Regions from separate parts of the Homo sapiens genome. Here region 2 is linked to region 1. Evidence: promoter capture Hi-C in 16 types of primary human blood cells and fetal thymus (Javierre and others, 2016). All regions are on one chromosome and are shown on one strand. Each heading gives the region's core, a stretch centred on a gene start or on the middle of the fragment in contact. The rest is flanking DNA. Distances are from core to core; before and after follow the strand shown.

Region 1 (7,126 bases), core at 1,537-4,036:
GAAGCACCTGCTTACCAACTTCTGAGCAAAAACCTCCAAGGAAAAGTTGGGGGCTGATGGTGGAGCAGGTTCTGCTGCTGCTTTTCCCCTCGTAAACAGCTTTGTCCCAGAAGTAGACCTCTGCCACCTGAACAGTCTTTTACCTTCAGGCTCAGACTTCTGGGGAAGAATCAGTATTTACAAGGCTTGAAACCAGGAGTATCCACCTCTACCCAAAGCGCCTCCACTCTCAGCTTCTACTTAGAAACCCAATTTTCTCTTTTCCATTCCTTCCCTGCAGGGGCAGGATCAATCTGTATCATGCTGTCCCTTTGGTTATAAATAAGAAAGACATAGCTCCCGACCCTGCAGGCTGAGTTTTTCACAACAGTGGGAAGTGTTTGTGTGTCTCCATGTTCAGCTCCCCAGGGATCAATGCCTCATGGCACAGCAGGCTCATGGAGGAACACAGGATAGCAGGATGCCTGACTGTCCCTCCTCAGCCCAGTGCCCCTCTAGCTGAGCGAATGAGCCACAGGTAAGGAGACCAAGCAGGCACATTCCAGACAGACTCCTGGGAGGACACCATTCTTTTTAGTAACCTCAAAGATCCTGCTGGCTGCATTAAAGATTTCGAGGTGACCTGTCAACAGCACAGCCCCAGAAAAATTCATATTTAGCTTTATCCAAGATATCACCAGTTCCTCAGACCTGCCCACTTCTCTGGGCTTGCCCCTCTGTTCACCTGCCTTTCCCATTCTCCTATTTCCCTAGGGCCTCTAGAGTCAACAAGACAGCTGACTTGGAACCTTGCAATGTTGGATACTTTGGGATGTGATCTACCCACTCCATCTTATAGATGAGGGGACTAAGGCCACAAAGGGGATGTGACTTATCTGAGGTCAGTTATAGTGTCAAAGGTTGAACTGGAAATAGAGCCGCAGACTCCTCCAGACTTGTAGTCCAGAACTTATCCATTCTAGTCCTCTAGGATGTGTCTGCTGCCCTCCAGCCCTGAAACAGACTTCTACTAGGATATAGCAGTTACCTAGGCTAAAACGTTTGGAAATATTTATCCCTGTGGGGCATAACTGAGGGAGGCAGAACATGGGGAAGGGAGGAAGCAGGTGGGAAAACTATTCACAGGTGCTAACTGCCAGGAGGCTCCTAAACCCACAACAGCCCTTCCATCCGTCACACTCTCTGCAAAGCAGCAAGGACTCTCTCTTTCCCTTTACCCACACTCTCTGCCCAGGCTACCCTTTGGTGACTTCTGCTCTTCCTCTTTACTCTTCAAGGCTGCTCTTGTGCTCATTTTGGCCTGTTTCCTGAGGAACAACATGGTAATGAAGCTGATCTGCATGATGTGCTTGGGGATCCAACCTCCATTGGAAACGTCAATTGAGTCAAACTATGGACTCTCAAGAATGGAAACAGAAAACACAAATGAGAGACTGCATCCTGTGGCCCACCCTCCTACCTCTCCTGCTCAAGCCCTCTACTCCACCCTAGGAGGTCAAAACAAATCATACACTACTTCTGCTCTAGGTCATTGGTCATATTTTTCCCGCTAGGTCATTGATTAGCAACCCCCTAAGCAGTCCCTGAAACAATCCCGGTCCATCTGAGGAAGGAGAATTCCTAGAGAGAAGGTCACTGGGGGCCCAGCAGCACCTGCACGGGCCTCACTGCCTTCTTGTCTCTCTTCCAAGGCAGGGAGGTACTTAGCGGTGAGGAAACCAAGTCGGCCCAGAATCCCAGGCAACTTGTGAGCCACTAAGGCCCTGAATTCTGACTTTGGGAGACCCGAGGCAAGTCAGCTGCTTGCTTGGTCCTGTCTGTGTCTTAGCCATGGTAAGTTCCCTCTGCCTGGAGCCTCGTCACCCCTCATCTCAGATTCACCTGGCTAGCCCCGATTCTGCCTTCAGGGCTTGGCTTACACACTGGCTCCTCCTGGAAGCCTTCCCCAAAACCCCATGTGCTACTTCAGGGTCCCCTTCTAGGCTGCCACCACACCTCATTCTATCCTATCCTATAGCATGATTATAATTGCCTGCTTGTCTCTCCCTCCAGGAAAGTAGCTCTGGGAAGGAACAAGAGCAGGGCAGATACTTCTCTGAGATAGCTGTATCCTAAGGTTGGCTCGGTACCTGACACTAATATTAGTGCAACTAGTATTAGTTAAATGAAGGAATAGAACGAATGGGGCAATTTACATCATTTGAGTCCTGTAGAGGAGACCAAAGGGAAGGGCTGAAAGGCAGGGAACAACTCATACTCTGCGTCTTATTGTGTTGAATAACTCTAGGAAACATTCCAACCTGAAAAGCACCTATCTATTGATATTCAGAGCCCTGTGCCATCTTGGAAGGGAAACGTCCGTTTGTTTGTAACAGGTAATGCATGTGTGGTGTACAAACTGTAAAAGATAGGAAAGAGCATTCAGAGAATGTAAGTTTTCCACTTTCTCCATCCCAAATGGCTTCTTCTCCCACAGACAATTGCTGCCACTGTCTCTGGATTAGAAACCACTTGACAGAGGGGACAGCCCGGCTAAGGGCCCTGCATGGTCAGGTGAAGAGATCTTTAGGAGTCAGTGTTGAAGGCAGAAAACGCCCCCAGAGGTTCCCCTCATCCCCCGTTGCAGCCTGTGTGTCTAAGCGCTTGGCCAGAGCCAGAGAGTCGCCGGCAAGGGAAACTCCGCGGCGAGCACGCAGCAGCAGAAGGGTTAACGCGCCGGGCTCCGCCTCCCAACCGCCTCTTCCGGGCAGAGAGGCGGGCTTACGTCACTTCCTGGAGACTGGTTGAATCCGGAAGTGACCCTAGAGAAACGAGTTGTGGCTGAGGACCCCGGCGGCAGACGCAGGTTCGGGACCATGAGCTGGTGAGTGAGGCCCAGGCGGCGGGAGCTGCTGGACCCGCGGACCCGCGAGGCCCCTGGCCCTGTGTCAGTGCCGCGTCCCGGCTCCCTCCGGTCCCGCGCGACCCCTCCGCCCCAGAGCAAGGCCCGACAGCCCCTGCCCTAGGGTCGTTCCCTCGGTGCTTTCCGGAGTCGCAGTCTCTCAGCAGGACTCCCGGGGAGAGTGGCGGATGATCCTCTTAGCCTGGGACTCCGCGTCTGACCCGTTTTGCCGGACTCGCGTCCTCCTAGCTCCTTGAAGTGAGGGACTTCCTTGTTCCCTCCTTTTTTAAACACCCATTGAGGTGGAGTCAGTGTCGTCTTTCTCTCCTGTGGGCATCTCTGCCCCGCGCCAGTCCCTCCAGAGCTGTGGCCCTCGCTGTGGCAGCCTGGACCCAGTTCACTAATCAAAACCCACTCCCTTCTGGGTAACTATCCTCTTTGCACGACTTAGCAGGCTTCAAAAGACAAGGAAAACTTGCTTCTCTTTTTAAAGGGGCCAGAATTACACTCCGCACACACCCTTCCACTGTGGGATTGGACTGGTTTTAATCATTCCAGAGCTATTACTCACTGCCTGCCCTCTAAATAGGCATGGTTAAGTTTAAACTTATGGGAACTATCATGCCATGAGAAAAGAAGCCAGGGAGTCTTAGAGTAATAGAGTCACAATTCCAGTTGCTGCAGTATGATGTGATACTTGGGTCATAGTAGACACTTCATAATGGTGTATTTATTTTGTAAGACTCAGTTTGCCCAAAAGGCAATCCCCATTTGTTGCTCTCGATTATTTATGTTCACAGGAGAGAATTGTGACTTGCCTGCCTTCCTGGGGCTTTCTTAGAGGTTAGAGAATACTCATATGCAGCACCTTACCTTACCGTCAGGCCCAAGGACCTATATAGCCACAACCCTGGACCTCAGGGGATTCAACTATAGTGTGTGAATAAATTGAGCCCCAGAGATGTACAAGATTAATCAGCCCATGGACATAGGGAACATATTTGCCACTCTGTCCTCAGAGGCTAGTGTGTTTGTTTATGCAAAGCGCATGATAACCAGTTATGAATGAATTAAGATAACAGAATGTCCTTCAGGAAGGCTTTTGAAGCTTAATTTTGGCCATCAGTGGAGAACGCAAGCAGCTGATATCAGTCAGTGTCAGGGATACTTCTCTAAAGTAAAATGCGAACCATCTGTCCCCTCCCCCACCTGTTTCTTAGACCAAGATTGATGGACAAATGTCAGACAATCACCGCAAGCACGGGAGGAAAGCCTGAAGCAATGTCCTAATAAGCCCCGGCAGGAGCTTCTGCTTTTCCCTCCACCATTTGCTCCAGGAGGCCAATAAGGGGCTGGAGCCTTAAAAAGCTACCTTCCCTGTCTTGTTATAACCTAGTTAGTGGTGGGCAAAGCGGCAATTCTTCAGTTCCCTTTCCCAGAGGAATTACGTCCTTTCAGTGTCATTCTGGGCCCCCCAGTCTTGCAATATAGATATCCTTTTGGCTGCTGCGTCTTGAATCTTTGGAGTGTTCTTACCTAATTTTTCAAAGTGAAAATGAGGCAGTACAGATGCTTTATATTGCCTAGATTGGCCTTTACTGAACCAATCTTTCCTTCACAAGTTGGGAGAAGAGCACAGCAGAAACTAATAAAGGTAAATGATTCTCTGGGTGATCCGAAGCAGGTTGTTTCCACCTGTCTCACAGAAAGTTTCCCTTCTGAAAAAATAGTAGCCCATTCCTTAAAGGTTATCCTGTCAGGTTGGAGAGAATTGAGATTGACAACTGTCTAACAAGAGCTGAGATTTTCATCTAGTAGCTTTAATTTACCAGTACATGCACATCTTGGTATCTCCTTGGACTGAGAGTCACAGCCAGAAGGGTGGCTTTGTCCCTCAAAGCTGAGATTCCTTTCTCTTCCCCCTTAAAGGGCTTCTACGTCATCTCTTGCGTGGACCCTGACCCTGTCTCTCAAAGACGGGAACAGCACCGGCGCCTGGGCACACAATCACACTCAGTTCCTAGCTCAATGGCTGGCAAGGAGACCGGGGCTGGGTCCTTCTGATTCACTCCCTGAGTGGTTTTCCTGCCCCCAGAATGAATCCATCCATTCATGTGAGACTGGAATTCTCATTAGGGGAAGAGACCAGAGTGACGTAGAGCCATCATGGGAGGCTGATGCCCAAGGTCAAGTTCACCAAGTACATGGGCTGTGCCAAGCCATCATTAAATAAGGCACATGGCCCATGGTCCCCAGAGGGTAACCATTGTTCTGGGCTAGGCTGAGCTTTCAAAATGTCACAGTGAGAAATGTCCAATATTGATGCCCTTTGCACACTGTGGACTTTGCATGAAGAGTGAGAGGCCTTTGTTCTCTGCTTCCTCTGTGCAGGCAACCCGCCCACCCCCTGTTTGTTTAGTGGGTACCTGCTGCCTTCCTGCACCATCTACCCATCCACTCCCCATACACCCATCTGCCTTTCAGAAAAGTGACCCGGTGGTCTGTCCTACTAGGAAGAAGGCATTTGATATTCACATCTCAGATCACAGATTCACTTCTTGGCCTCAAGCCAAATGCTTCTCTCTCTCTCGCTCTCTTTTTCTCTCCCATTGTCCACCCCACCTCCCCCCGCCATTTGCCCCCCTCCCAACTTTCTCTCCTCTCCTCCCCACTCACCCCCTCCCTCCCTATTTCTGTCTCCCTCTTGTCTCCCTTTTCCCCTTCCTGTCTCTCTTCCCCATCTTCCAGTGTATACTCAGGTGGCTTTATTATGGTATGGAGAGAGGATTAAGTAGAATTAAGAATAGTGACCTCAATCTAAGCTGGCTCCAGGAATTGTAGCCTCCTGTTGAACCATACACCTTGATGATTTTAGGCTTAAACGAGGAGGAAAAGGGAGTACTGGAAGAAATCTCCCTATACCTAGGGGTCCAGTAGTTTGACAAAAAGGAAGGAAATTAGAGGCAGAGCAGGTAAGTGTGAGTAGGAGTTAGAGTGCTGCGTTCAGGTTCTGGCTCAGCCACTCACAGTGCGGCCTGGTCAAGCATTGAGCTGTTCTCTGTCTTAGTTTCTCCATCTGTAGCATGGAGTGGCCATTCCTGCTGACAATTTGCCACCTGAGCCTGCTGTGAAATGAGTGGAGTGATATTTTTCTGACTCTTCCGGGGTCTTCTACCTCTGTCTGCCCTTCACACTTTGGTGTTCCTCATGTTTGATCCTTTTTGTTTCTTTCCTGTTTTCACCCTGTAGTCCCTTGCCATCATCTTCAGGATAGAGGCCCAACTCTGGGCCAGGGCTTCTGAGGCCCTCTGGGCCTGGCTGTCCATCTTCACTCCGTGTGTTCCATCCTCCAAGCTTCTCCTGCTCTCTCGTGCCCATGTGCCTCTGGATAACTGTCCCTTCTGCCTGAAATGTTTCCCCTTCACTCACACCCTGTCCACTAGGCCAGCATCTACTCATCCTTCAAGAGTCAGGCCACGCTTCACCTTCTCTGAGGGTCTTCCCTGAGTGGCCCCTCACACCCTGCCATGCTGCACTGGGTGCCGCTCTTCTGACCTTCATCAGCATCTGTACTCCGCTGGCTGGTTTACTTGTCTGTGAGTTCTTGAGTATGGGGACTGTCTTGTGGTCATTGCTATTCCCTAGCACTGTTCCTGGCAGTCAGGAAGTGTTTATTAAATATATGAATGGGGCCTTTTTTCCCTTTTCCTGACTTGCCTCAGCTCAGGAAAAATGTTAAGATAAAAACTTGCAGAACCTACAAACCACTTCCTAAAATGAAGAGCCTCTGAAAGTACTATTGTTAAATTGACCGACACAAGTGGCTTCCAGGTCAGGCTGCCTGTGATTTCTCCTCCCCACTCCTTCTGATCCTCCACTCCAAAGTGCTTTGCTGGGTTTCTTCTGTACTTCCATAGTGCTTCTCCTGTAGCACTTCTGCATCCTTCTGAGTATCACAGACGTACACCTCCCTTCCACACCAACCCCATGAGAACAGGAGCGACATAGAGCTTCTTCATCTTTTTGTACGCATAGTGGGTATCATGCACATAGTGGGTATCTAACAGGTAATTGTTAAATGAATGGAATATAAAGAAGGTAAACTTCTGGGTCAAACAAAACCATTATTCAGTTTTTTTCTCAGTGAAGTCCTTTCCCCTATGATTACCGTTGCTGTCTCACATGTGTAGAGTGCTTCTAACTTTTCAGATGGCTTTCCCGTCCTTTGTCTGACTTCATGCTTAT
Region 2 (7,126 bases), core at 2,168-4,667, 260 kb before region 1:
ACTTTATTAGTTCCATGAGAACTGGTTGTTAAAAAGAGCCTGGCACCTCCCATTTCTCATTCCTGCTTTCTATTTCACTGTGTGATTTCTGCACACTCCAGCTTCCCTTTCCCTTCTAAAATGAGTGGGAAAAGGCTGAGGCTTTTACCAGATGCCCAGTCTTCCGGCCAGCAGAATTGTGAGCCAAATAAACCTCTTTATCAATTATCCAGCCTCAGGTATTCATTTATAACAGCACTAAATGGACTAAGACATCCTGTATTTAAAAGTGGAATTACAAACCAAAATTCCAACAATACTGGCTTTTTAATTTGCTGTGTGTTTACCTCAAACAAAGATCTTGATATATTTCTTCACCTAGTTTCAGCTTACTGTCATCTTTTCATTTCAACCTGAAGATCTACTTTCAGCATTTCTTGCAGGGCAGTGCTGGTGGTAATCAACTCCCTAAGCTTTTGTTTATCTGGGACTTTCTTAATTTCTCTCTTACTAATATTTTGGAAGATACTTTTGCTGGACATAGAATTCTTAATTGACAACTTTTCTTCTTTCAGTACTTTATATCATCCCAATGCCCCCTGGGCTTCAAAGTTTCTGCTGATAAATTGGCTGATAATTTTATTGAGGATCCCTATACATGATGAGTCTTCTCTCTTATTGCTTTCAAAATTCTCTCTTTGTCTTTGGCTTCCAACAGTTTGATTCTAATATGTCTCAGCGTAGGTCTCTTTGAGTTTATTTTACTTGAAATTCCTTGAGCTTCTTGGGGCTTTAGATGGTCTGTTGTATGTCTCAACTGTAATCTTTGTCTTCAGTGTCTGAAGGTCTGTAGTCGGTCTGCTGGTTTCATAAGCAATGCTTCCCCTTTTCCCTTAGGCAAAGCAGAGACTACTCCTGCAAGTGGACCCCAGACAGATTAGAGCATTGCACATGATGGGTCTGGCTCTCCTTCTTTGAGTTTAAGGAAGAGCTGGGGCTTGAGCTACTATCTCCTCCAGACCAATACTGCTGGCAGTGGAGGTGGAACAAGGTAGAAAGAAAATGAAATTTCCAACCTTTTTTTTTTTTTTTGGAGACGGAGTCTTGCTCTGTTGCCCAGGCTAGAGTGCAGTAGTACGATCTTGGCTCACTGCAATCTCCGCCTCCTGGGTTCAAGTGATTCTTCTGCCTTAGCCTCCCAAATAGCTGGGATTACAGGTGCCTGTCACCATGCCTGGCTAATTTTTGTATTTTTAGTAGAGATGGGGTTTCACCATGTTGGACAGGCTGGTCTTGAACTCCTGACCTCAGATGATCTGCCCATCTCAGCTTCCCAAAGTACTGGGATTACAGGCATGAGCCACCGTGTCTGGAAAAATTCCTATTATTTTGAAGGAGGCTTTTAAAAATTTTTTGAGACAGGGTCTCCTTCTCTCACCCAGGGTGCAGTTAAGGAGGCTTTCCTTGATTAGGCATTTACTTGGCTGCTCTAACCTTTGGCTGTTTTCCAGAGCTTCTATAAAGTTAGTTCATCCAATTCTCTGTCTCTCTGGGGGTGTGTGTGTGTGTGTATATGTGTGTTTAGCTTTCCATGAGGGAACAAGAGCTTGGAGCTTCCTAATCATCCATTTTGCTGACATCCCCAGGATGACTTTTTTTAAACAGCTTTATTGCTATATGCTCCACTTATCTCACAATTCATAAATTTTGAAGTGTATAATTCAGTGGTTTTTAGTATATGTATAGATATGTGCAACCATCACATAGGCAATTTCAGAACATTTTCATCACCTTTAAAAGAAACCTCATACCCTTTAGCTATCATCCCCATACCTCTCATTCACGTCTTATCCCACCTCCACCTCCAGCCTTAGCAACCACTAGTCTACTTTCTGTCCCTGTGTATTTGCCTATTCTGGACATTTCATATAAATGGAATCATACAATATGTCCTCTTTTGCGACTGGCTGCTTTCACTTAGCACAGTGTTTTCCCCCATGGCTCCTGGGCCCCACCCTGGGCTCTGTAGAAGGCACAGGATACTGAGAGTAGAGTGGGAGCAGGATTGCATGACGGAGTAGCCAGATTACTGGACTGTTCCAAATTTGAAGTTGCATCCAACAGCTGCAATGCGAAGATAAGGGCGAAGAAATTGAAGATGTTAGCAAGTGAATAGTACAAAGGTTTGTAAGACCCAGGTACCAGAGGGAAGGTAGTCAGAATAGGTAAGGAAAAAGGAGAGTGGTCGAGGGACCAGAGTTTAGAATCAAATGAAAGACTAAGTGCAGAGAAGTAACAAGAGGGTAGAGGAAGGAGAAGAGATGGTGATCAGAAGAGCTGCTTGAAATTAGCTGGGCATAGTGGTGCGTGCCTGTAATCCCAGCTACTTGGAAGGCTGAGGCAGGAGAATCACTTGAACCTAGGAGGCGGAGGCAGCAGTGAGCTGAGATCATGCCACTGCATTCCAGCCCCGGTGACAGCGAGACTCCACCTAAAAACAAAAACAAAAACAAACAAAAAAAACTGCTTGAATTTAATATTTTAGGGATGGAGCAATTTGTAGTGATGAAAATGTCCAAGAAAGTGGTCATGGGAAGGGAGGCTGGAAAAGAGGGAGGGGAAAATGTTGGTAGAGGCATCCAAAATAGGCAAATTCATAGAGACGGAAAATAGATTAGGGTTGTCAGGGGCTGGGGGTAGGGAGGAATGGGGTGTTACTGCTAATAAGTACAGGACTTCTTTTAGGTTGATGAAAATGCTCTGTACTTTGGTAGTGATGGTTGCACAAGCTTGTGAACATACGAAAACTCACTGGATTATATATATTAAAAGGGTGAATTTTATGTGTGAATTATATCTCAATTAATTTTTAATTAGGAATCAATGAAAAGAATTCAGGGGAATTTGTTCACTACAGTTCAGAGATTCCAGAGGGCCTATGTGGAAAGGTTTAGGAGGGAGAGAAATAACAAGAGTCTGTGTCTGGGTAGAGAAATGAAGTGAGGCCTAGGCAGTGATTGGAGGGTGTCAGGCACAGGAGGCCTGGAGGGATAAGAAGGGAGTGAAGAGTTTCAGCAGCAGTGGTCCAACAGATCCCAGTAGCTGGAGGGACCAATGTGTCTCAGGAAGCCACAGGTTTGGCTTGAATGGTGGTGTCTGGAGGTGGTCCCAGCCCAGGTAACTGAAGGAAGAGAGGGGGACTTCAAGGGTGGGCACCAAGAAATCTAGCAATGGGACTTTCCAGGAGCCGGGGTGGTGATGGGGAGGGAGAATTGTCACTCCGCAAGCTTGAACACGGCTTTCAGATCTTAGGTTTCAAGTATGAATCAAAGTCCTGAAAATCCCCAAGAGAAAGATCAGGTTTGAAAAATCCCGAGAACCACTGCATTCTGCCAGATCTCTCTGCACAAAAACAAGCCAGAGAAGGTTAGATAAATAAGCAAAAGGCATCCAGGGCTAAGGGCCAACCTGAGTGATTAGTTTCCTACTGATGTTTGTACAGAGTTAAGACCTGTTAAGTGAAAATGAGGATGATCAGAAACGGAAGTGGCGTGTGTCATGCACTTAAACAAGAATTTTATTAAGCTTCTATATACTCCATGTAAGATGCTCAGAATGCTGGACAGTCTCCGTGCTGCCTCCGAGAAGCTTATAGGCTGGGGGGATGAGGAGATACTATCACTAAGCAAATAACTATAAAATAATTTATTACAACTATATGAGAATAATGAAGAAAGCAGTAAAGTGCTCTAATTGTTTATAACAGGAATCTGATGGACCCTAGGGGAAAGAGCAAGTTTCTCTTAGGAAACGACATTTCAGCTACCCCCCTAATGAAGGTGGGAAGCAGGGTCAGTGCCTATCACAGCCCTGGCATAGAAAGGAGCTTGAGGAACCCGCCAGAGGTAACATGTGAGAGGAAGAGGAAGTCAGCTAGAGAGACAGGAAAAGCCTGATCTCGCAGGGTATTGTGGTCCACGTGAAGGACTCTGGGTCCTTCTCCCAAGAGCAAAGGGAATGTAGAGGGAGTGAGTGAGAGGCAATGGAGCAGCTACAGAGTGCAGTGGAGCCAGGTGGTTAAGAGCGTGGACTCTGGGCTGGGCGCGGTGGCTCACGCCTGTAATCCCAGCACTTTGGGAGCACACAGGTGGATTACTTGAGCCCAGGAGTTCGAGACCAGCCTGGGCAACAATGCAAGACCCCGTCTCTACAAAAAATACAAAAATTAGCCAGAGCCGTGGTGTGCCTGTACTCCCAGCTACTTGAGAGGCTGTGGCAGGAGAATCCCTTGAAGCCCAGAAGGCGGAGGTTGCAGGAGCCAGCATCACCCCATTGCACTCCAGCCTGGGCGATGAGAGTGAGACCCTGTCTCAAAACAAAGCATGGACTCAATGGACTCAACCCAGTTTCCACAGGTTCAACCAGAGCCTGGGGTTCAAATTCCAGGTCTGCCACTTCTTGGTGACCAAGATCAGGTTTTAACTAATGTCACTGTGCTGTCTCCTCCTCCATAAGATGGGGTGATAATAGTGCCTATTTCCAAGGATTGGCATGAGGATTCGGAGATAAAAGTGCCTGGCACGTGGAGTAAGGAAGAACCGCCACTGGAAGTGGGCTCAACAGCAGCAACCTGCACTGTGGGCTCTCCCTTCTTCCAGGCCGCCATCACTGTGCTAAAGGAGTTGACACCCAGAAAAGTTGAGACTTCTCTAGTGGATGCCATTTGGAAGATGAGTTTCTTGGTCTTGGGCAGCCCTTCTGGCAGCATCTCCTTGGCTGTGGCTGTCCTGTGAGCTGCATGCTCAACCTATACCCCAGGGCCCAACATGGGGCAGGCACGTGGGAGGTGCTTAATGCCTATGAGTGAAGTGGGTTGCAAAGGAATGAATGAATGGATGGATCCGTGAGAGAATACTTAGACTATTCATAAATTATTGAGCATTTACTATGTGCCAGGCACCTTACTGAGGGCTTAACCTGGTTGATTTCATTCTCATAATGATCTTGTGAGGAGGCTACTATTAGACTCTGTCCACTAGGGGAGATCTTGGGAATATGTTTTCTGGTTGGGGCAAGGGGGAGTCCTGGTTGTACTTCAGAGAACCTAATGATTGAGAAATGTGTTTAATATGTAGCCCCTAAGGGGGGCTTTTTGCTACAGGTTGGGATCCTGGAGGCAGGAATTGAGCCAGAAAGCAGACTATGCTGAAAGTAGTTTCTCTAAAGGTCTAGCTGCGTGTACTTTACAGCGATGATCTCATATTCCTTAGCAAGGCACCACGGTGACAGGAATTATTTTACTTGTTTGTGAAAAGGAAAAGTGGTGCATTCTAGGGAGACACAGTGGCCTCCCAGCATCCAGAGAGAGCTCAGAGCAGAAGCCAGGAGTCCTGAGTTGCTGGCACGTCTCTCCCACCCCCGCCTCTGAGAAGCAGAGAGCAGAGCTATTGGAAAGCCTGTTGCAAGCCGCCTTTATTCTTCTCCCTGCCCACTCAGGCTCAAACCAGAGTCCCACATGCACCTGGTGGCAGGACTGTTCCCCAAGGGAATGCAGGCGACAGTCCCCGGCTCCCCTTCCTCCCAGTGCACTGCTGGGGCAGGCCACCCCTTTCTGAGCCCCAAGCAGCTCCCCAGACCTCCTTCTCCAGATACGATTATTTTGGGAGAGTGCTGAGTGCAGCACAGCTGCAAGGTGCACCCAGACGCACCCTTCTGTCCTCAGCTGGCCCTTCGGAGCTGGCCCTTCGGAGCTGGCCTCGGTCTGGGGTGCACCTACCCCCACCCCCTGCAGCAGTCCCTCCTACACAAGGTCACTGTGTCCAACCACCTCCACCTTGGGGAAGCTCACAGGCTGTGGAGACAGGTGGTGGAAGAATGGGGGCCAGGAGAGTCAGAGCCGGTCTGAGGGGCACAGCCCAACTCCTAGCCCTGAGCCTGGGGTCACCAGCTTCCCAGGGCTTGCCTTACAGCCAAGGAGCAGGCTGGCCTTTGGCCAGCTGACCATCCCTGGGCCAACAGCAGGGACTGGACAAGGAGCTGCACCGAGGAGCTTATATAAGCACTTCTACTTTGCAGCCTGCTCTCTGCCCTGGCAGCCAGGACAAGAGTGACAACAAAGCTGTGTCCTGCCAGGGGAGGGGCCTCTGCCAGGAACGTACATTGAGTCCAACTTGGAAGAGGCCCAGTCCTCCCAAAGTACTTGTGTCCGGGTGGTGGACTGGATTAGCTGCGGAGCCCTGGAAGCTGCCTGTCCTTCTCCCTGTGCTTAACCAGAGGTCTCTATCCTGCCAAGTGGGCCCCTGGGGTCGGGGGCACAGGTAGTGGGCAGGAAGGCCCCTGCAGGGGATCCAGCCGCTCTAAAGTTCTTTCTGTTCCAGGTGCCCATGGGTTGGACAATGAGGCTGGTCACAGCAGCACTGTTACTGGGTCTCATGATGGTGGTCACTGGAGACGAGGATGAGAACAGCCCGTGTGCCCATGAGGCCCTCTTGGACGAGGACACCCTCTTTTGCCAGTAAGTCAGGGCAGGCTTGGAGGCGGGAGGCACAGAGGCTACCAGGCAGGTAGATGGCAGGGAGGGGTATATCCAGAACCAAGAAGCACCATCTCCTGAGCCTGATTTTATGGGAAGGCAGAACACGTGTCAGATCTGGAGACCACCTTGATGGAGGATGGCACTGAGAAAGGGATTTAGAAACAGACTCCTTCCTGCCTTCCAGAATGCACCTCTCCCAGGACCAGGAGGGCTGTGTATGTGGTCGGCTCTGCTTGGGCCCTCCAAACCTGGGGGGTCTTTGTGGGGGCAGGAGGCTGAGACCCTCAGAGAGAGACCCAGAGAGAGACCATCCCTCCCTGCAGCCTGAATGCCCCCTCTCCCCAGAACCCCAACAAAGAGGCATTTGAATGAAAGAAGGTGTATGATTAGACCCTTCCTGTGTGAGAGGTTTTTGTCAGTGATAGGACCCAGGAGCGTTTGTGCAGGGCCCTTTAGGGATCATGGCACTGGATGGAGTTGGGTGACGAGGCTGGCTTCTTCCCTTCCAAGGGCACAAGCTGCTTCTACTTTGGGTAAGCTGGAAAGCCTGGCGTTCGGCTCTCTCCTCACCAACTCTGCCGGTTAGAAAAGCAAGCCTTCATTTGTGTGGAC

The links. Contacts are between HindIII fragments. The CHiCAGO score rates a contact against its expected background, and 5 or more counts as called.
Region 2: a contact is called between a fragment that was not itself captured here and the fragment with the promoter of BIN3 in region 1, in 4 of 17 cell types (endothelial precursors, M1 macrophages, M0 macrophages and 1 more). The highest score is 9.8, in endothelial precursors.

The regions. Positions count from the first base shown.
Region 1 is chr8:22,664,781-22,671,906 of GRCh38, reverse strand. It overlaps BIN3 (bridging integrator 3), which reads left to right and starts at 2,786. Exons shown (of 9, transcript NM_018688.6): 1 at 2,786-2,863. The coding sequence starts at 2,856. RefSeq lists enhancers at 2,617-2,676, 2,434-3,063 and a silencer at 2,927-3,086. The HindIII fragment of the contact is 6,679 bases long and covers 1-3,991 here.
Region 2 is chr8:22,926,951-22,934,076 of GRCh38, reverse strand. PEBP4 (phosphatidylethanolamine binding protein 4) reads left to right here and starts at 6,163. Exons shown (of 7, transcript NM_144962.3): 1 at 6,163-6,254; 2 at 6,357-6,493. The coding sequence starts at 6,363. The HindIII fragment of the contact is 298 bases long and covers 3,269-3,566 here.